Linked DNA regions of Homo sapiens: region 2 is linked to region 1. Evidence: promoter capture Hi-C in 16 types of primary human blood cells and fetal thymus (Javierre and others, 2016). All regions are on one chromosome and are shown on one strand. The core of a region is centred on a gene start or on the middle of the fragment in contact, and the rest is flanking DNA. Distances in the headings are between cores, read along the strand shown. Region 1 holds the start of MAPK6 (mitogen-activated protein kinase 6). Region 2 overlaps RAB27A (RAB27A, member RAS oncogene family).

Region 1 (2,700 bases), core at 45-2,544:
TTTTCACTCATTACCTCTTCTTCACACCTGGTACTCAGCTGACGTTGTTTTAAATATTAAAAAATATAAAGCATTCAAGCTCACCCCAACCACTTAACTTCATTACTCTGTGATTTTTTTTTTTGAGACAGAGTTTCGCCCTTTCGCCCAGGCTGGAGTGTCCTGGCGCGATCTCGGCTCACTGCAACCCCCCGCGGGGTTCAAGCTATTCTCCTGCCTCAGCCTCCCGAGTAGCTGGGATTACAGGTGTGAGCCACCACACCCGGCTACTTTTTGTATTTTTAGTGGAGACGGGGCTTTCACCATGTTGGCCATGCTGGTCTCGAACTCCTGGCCTCAGGTGATCTGCCCGTCTCGGCCTCCCAAAGTGCTAGGATTACAGGCGTGAACCACCACGCCTGGCCCTTTGTGATCTTTTTGAAGTGGTCTTTGCCTCTTTCTTGAAGATGCCCATAATAATGACTAGAAGGGCTATTCTATGTCTGGTTCTCAGCAAGATGGTGATGAAGTCATTGAAAAAATATGCTGACCTGCGTCTCTAATTTCATAAATACTTAAATTTCACATAAACACTGAAAAGGCTCCTTGGACTCAATAAGCCATGATAAGTAATGTAAGTTTGCTTTTAGCCAAGTGGGCCCAAGAAGGCACCCATCCACCTTTCTACGTTTCATAGTGCATCCCTTCCCAAATTCAAATTGTCCTATCCCAGTTCCTGCAACAAGCCAGGTACTCTGGCCTCCCAGTCTTTGCTCACAGAAACACCCTCCCCACCTCCTGGTTATATCCGCTCCTCCGGGATCCAGCTGAAAGGCCACCTTGGCGACCACTCCTGAAAGCCTTCCTCCATACTCTGGCAGAATGAATGACCTTAGTATTGGCCTCTAACGCGTCTGTCTTGTGCTCGGGCTGTCGCCTTCCAGCCAATCCATCTTAAGGTCCACCCTTCCTGGAGACTGAGGCCTCTTCCTCTCGGATTGCCCAGTGCCTTGCACGTAGTAGGTGCTTAGTAAACGCTGGCACTGGGTTTGGTCACTTTGTTCCCTTAATGCCAGGGCAGGTAGTAGAGCAAACGGCCCCAGCTGTCTTCCTCCCTGCCCGCCCGCAGGCAAAGCCCCCAGGAGACGCCGGACGAGCCGCGTGCCTTTCCCACCGCCTCCGCGGCGCGCGCAGCCCAGTCACGGGCGCTGGAAATTCCGGCGCGTGCGGGTGCGCTGGGCAGGGCGGGGGCGGGAGAACCCGTGGAGTGAGCCTGTGACGTGAGGGGGCGTGGCACCGCGAAGCCCCGCCCCCTCTTCCTCGCCCTCTCTCGCGGGTCGGGGTTACATGGCGGCGACTGCGGCAAAGCGAGAGCCTCGGAGACGCCGCTGCCGCCAGCACAGCCGGAGACCTGAGCCGACACTGGGGGCAGTCCGCGAGCCCCGCACTCTCTCGATGAGTCGGAGAAGTCCCGTGAGTGTGTGTGTGTACGTGTGCGGGGTGCGCCGGCGGGGCGGCTCGGGAGGGCGCCGCGGCGGGCCCGGCGGCGGCGGCGGCGGCGGCGACGGCGGAGCCGGCTCCCTCCTCCATTGTGTGTGACCCTCCGGCGGCTGCCGCTCAACAAAGGCGTTTTTGTTCGGTCTGCCGCCCGCCCCCTGCTCGCCCGCCTGCCCGCCCGCTCGGGCCTGGCCGGCGCGTCCCCGCGCGGGCGGGCGGGCGGCGGGCTGGGGTCCCCGCGTGGGGCCGGCCAGGCGGCCAGCGCGCCCCTCCCACCCGGCACGCCCCTCGCCGGTCGCCCTGCCAGGCCGCGCCCGCTCCCTGGCCCCGCACGCCTGCTGCCGTCCCGCCGCCTGCGCCTGGCTCCGCGGGTTCGAAACCCAGCCGGACCGGACCGGAGGGCGGGCGAGCGAGGGGCGGCGGCCCGGGGAACATGAGGTGGCGTGGAGTCTCGCCTTACTGGCACGCTGCCTTTCGAAATGCTCCCGCGTCTCCTCCCCCATCCCACCCGGTGACTCGGCCTCAGCTGACTCCGGCCGGGCAAAGTCTCCAGTGGCGTAGCGCGCAGCGCTCACCCGGCTCGTCTCAGAGCCCTGAAGTCCGCCCAAGTTTTGAGTCTTGCCATGAATGAGGTACTGAAAACTCGGAGACGAAATTCCTAATTTCCTCCCTCGGCCCTACAGTCTTTCCTTAGCTTCTTTCGGGACCTTAAGTGGTGGTCTGTAAAAGTGCCCAAATGAAAGCTTGTTTTGTCGGTTCACCAAAAAGGGCCTTGTCACTTTGCTGTGCATTTTAGTCCGCCTTGTGAGTTGTGTCGAAAAGTAAAGGTGTTTTGGCATCCTTTTGTTTCTTGGCGAGTGTAGGACCCAACCGGTTTAGGTGTTAGGGGGATCTCTGTGCAGCGGGAGCTTCTTGATTCCTTTCCTGTTTTATTTTTTCTTTTGCTTGTTCATTGGAAAAGGTCCAGTGAAAGGGACTGGTGAGTTGGAATTAGAAGCCTACTTGTATTAACGGCAGAATTCGTGTTCATTGCTAAAGATGCAGTCTCAGTAATGACTTTTTTTTTTTTAACGGATACAGATGATTTGTCAAGGGGAAAAATTAACACGCCATACAATGAAGAGCAAGCAGCTTCAGAGTAATTTTCTGATGGCTGATTCTTCTAGCCTGTCTCTTACAGTTCCAATTGCACATGTCCTCCCTCTTTAACGCTGGAAAACTGAG
Region 2 (2,700 bases), core at 73-2,572, 3.2 Mb after region 1:
AAGGACAAGTGACAGATGTGAATGGACAAAAATTACACAGTGCACTAGATAATGTGGGGAACGACTTTACCTCACATGTCAGCCAAATAAGCATTATCCTTTCAAGATAACAGAAACTATAAGCAAATAATTCTTGATGCCAATCCAAAACATGTAACTGAGTTTTGATGGAATTTGGTAAGGAATGCCTGATGCTCAAAATTAAAAAAAAAAAAAAGACCAGGTTTCGAACCGTCAGGAGGGAACACATCTTGGGCTGACTGATGCGGGCAGGTAAGGGTTTGAGGGTTTGCGCTTGCAAAGGTGTAAGAGGCTAAGGTTACTTAGGATGCATTAAAGGACTTCAGCAGTGGATGTGGCTGAAGGGATGCATGGAGGTAGGGGAGAATGTATCCAGAACAGAGGCTGAAAACATGGGAAAGTGTTTGAGACCTGGGTCTAAAAGGACTGTGACATGGCACTAAAAAGTTTGTGTGTTATCCTCTGGGCAACAGAAGGCCACCACGGGCTCTTTATGCAGGAGAGGACCATGAGATGTGTGCCTTAGAAAGATCTCTATGGCAGCCACATGGAGACTGGAAATACACAGAGCATCAGAAGGCTCTAATGTTACCGACTGAATGTTTGTGTCTCCCCAAAATTTGTATGTTGAAATCTAATCCCCAATGTGATGGTATAAGGAGGCAGGTCTTTGGGAAGTAATTAGGTTTTGAGGATAGATCCTTCATGAAGGGGATTAGTGCCCCTATAAGAAGAGGCCAGAGAGCTACCTTTCTGCCTTGTGAGAATACAGTGAAAAGTCAAGTGTCTGCAACCTGGAAGAGAGCTCTCACCAAAATCTGAGCATGCTGATACCCTGATCTCAGACTTTCAGCCTCTAGAACAATGAGGAATAAATTTCCGTTGTTTGCAAGCTATCCAGTCTATGGTACTTTGTTATAACAGTTTGAACTGGTTAAGACATATGGAGAGAGATTTTGAGGGTTTGAATTGTGTTGGTGACAGTAGGGATGAAGAAGAAGTGATTAATTTGAGATATATTTAGGAGGTAGAAATCAATATAACTTCTTAACAGACTAGTATAGAAATTAAAGATAACCAAAACTTTTAGTTTGGTAAATAAATGGTATAACATTAACTGAAAAAGGAAAAGATGGTTTGAGAAGATGATAATTATTATAACTAACACTAAGCACTATTCTAAATCCTTTAAAGCACTAACTCATTTAGTCTTCACAACAACCGTATAAGGTCCCTAAATCTACAGATGAAAAATACCAATGCACAGAAAGGTTAATAAAGTTGCCCAAGGTCACACAGCCAGAAATGGCAGAACCAAGATGTGATCTCAGACACACTCTCAACTACCACATTACACTGTACGGTACACAACCAGTTAAACATCTCTCATGTCTGAGGGACATCAAGGGAGTTGTGTTTAATTTGCATTTGGAAAACAGACCTAGGGCTCACAAGAAGAATATGGCTATGAATTTTAGTGTCATCAACATAATAGTATTTCCTTAGGCCATGGGAAAAATGAGATGGACATTTAGAGTGAAGAGAGAACAAAAATGTAAGGAGCAGCAAGACAGATACAAGAAGGACACTAGGAAGGAGATTTTTCAAGCAGTGATTGTCCACAGGCTGGCTCAGTTGCCACACCACAGAGGTACAAACTTGAAGTGGTCTGGGCCTTCTCCGTGTGAAAATGGCAAATCCATTCACTGTTTGCTGGATGAATGGACTTATCATTGAGCTATTTGCTGGATTTACCATCTAGCTAAAAGATAGCTAAAAGATTCCAGCTTAGACTATGTCATCAAGAAAGGAGGCCTGATAGGGTATGAAACGGGGAAAACAAGAAAAACAAACAAAAATGGATGCTCTCAGCTCTTGAAAGGATGATTTATACCCGTGTTTGAGCAAAGCAGATTCTGCCTTCAGAGAAGCAGCAGCAAAGATAGCTCATTTCTCAAGCAGCACCCCATCTCATCCATCACCCACTTCCCCTACCTGCCCCCCAGCCTACACCACAGGACCTCTGCTCTGCCAAGAGGGCAGGGCCCCAGCCACGCTGCAGCAACACCAGAAGCGCAAAAGAAAATGTGCTGTTGCATAGACAGCGCAAATAAATAATGGTTCTTGTGATAATCAGCTTTTGCTTTTAATGGGCTTCACATGACTCATCAGCTATCACGTATGCTATAGCCTGAGCTCTGGCTCTAAATCAAACAAGTTCAAAGGGAGAAGAAAGGAATAATAGCAAAAGATGAGCAGATATCTCAAGAAGCCTTAATCCTACTGAGGAAAAACAGAAATGGAGGCAGGAAGAAGACAGTTTCCCCTATGAGCACTCAGGTACCGAGGGTCCAGAGAGGGCGGAAGCTGAAACAGCCGCAGAGAGAGGCAGCCTAGTTGCCGTGACGCCATCCTGCCAGCCAGCAAGATTTCACCAGACCGTTCCCTTTCTGCCACAGTTCCTGTCTTGTGGGCAGCAGAAGCACCAAGAAAGAAGAAAAATGGTTGTTTGTATTCTTATGGCTGCAGGGTCATACCTCTGTGACTTAACTATTTCAACAAGTGACAAGGAGAAAGTGGTAAGAGACAGAGAGAGCAGCCAAGATGGGGGTAAACTCCTTTGGAATGTATTAAATCCAACTTCATTCTATGGATAAAATGCCCTCATGAATAAACACT

The links. Contacts are between HindIII fragments. The CHiCAGO score rates a contact against its expected background, and 5 or more counts as called.
Region 2: a contact is called between a fragment that was not itself captured here and the fragment with the promoter of MAPK6 in region 1, in 1 of 17 cell types (total CD8 T cells). The highest score is 5.9, in total CD8 T cells.

Annotation. Positions count from the first base shown.
Region 1 is chr15:52,017,925-52,020,624 of GRCh38, forward strand. MAPK6 (mitogen-activated protein kinase 6) reads left to right here and starts at 1,295. Exons shown (of 6, transcript NM_002748.4): 1 at 1,295-1,452. It overlaps MAPK6-DT (MAPK6 divergent transcript), which reads right to left and starts at 1,171. Exons shown (of 2, transcript NR_156732.1): 1 at 775-1,171. RefSeq lists enhancers at 896-965, 2,306-2,355 and silencers at 1,136-1,245, 1,546-2,055. The HindIII fragment of the contact is 8,244 bases long and covers 1-2,217 here.
Region 2 is chr15:55,265,435-55,268,134 of GRCh38, forward strand. The region is part of intron 2 of RAB27A (RAB27A, member RAS oncogene family); the gene reads right to left. Among named protein-coding and RNA genes, the nearest start is that of RAB27A, 23 kb to the right of the region's middle. The HindIII fragment of the contact is 4,044 bases long and covers 1-2,700 here.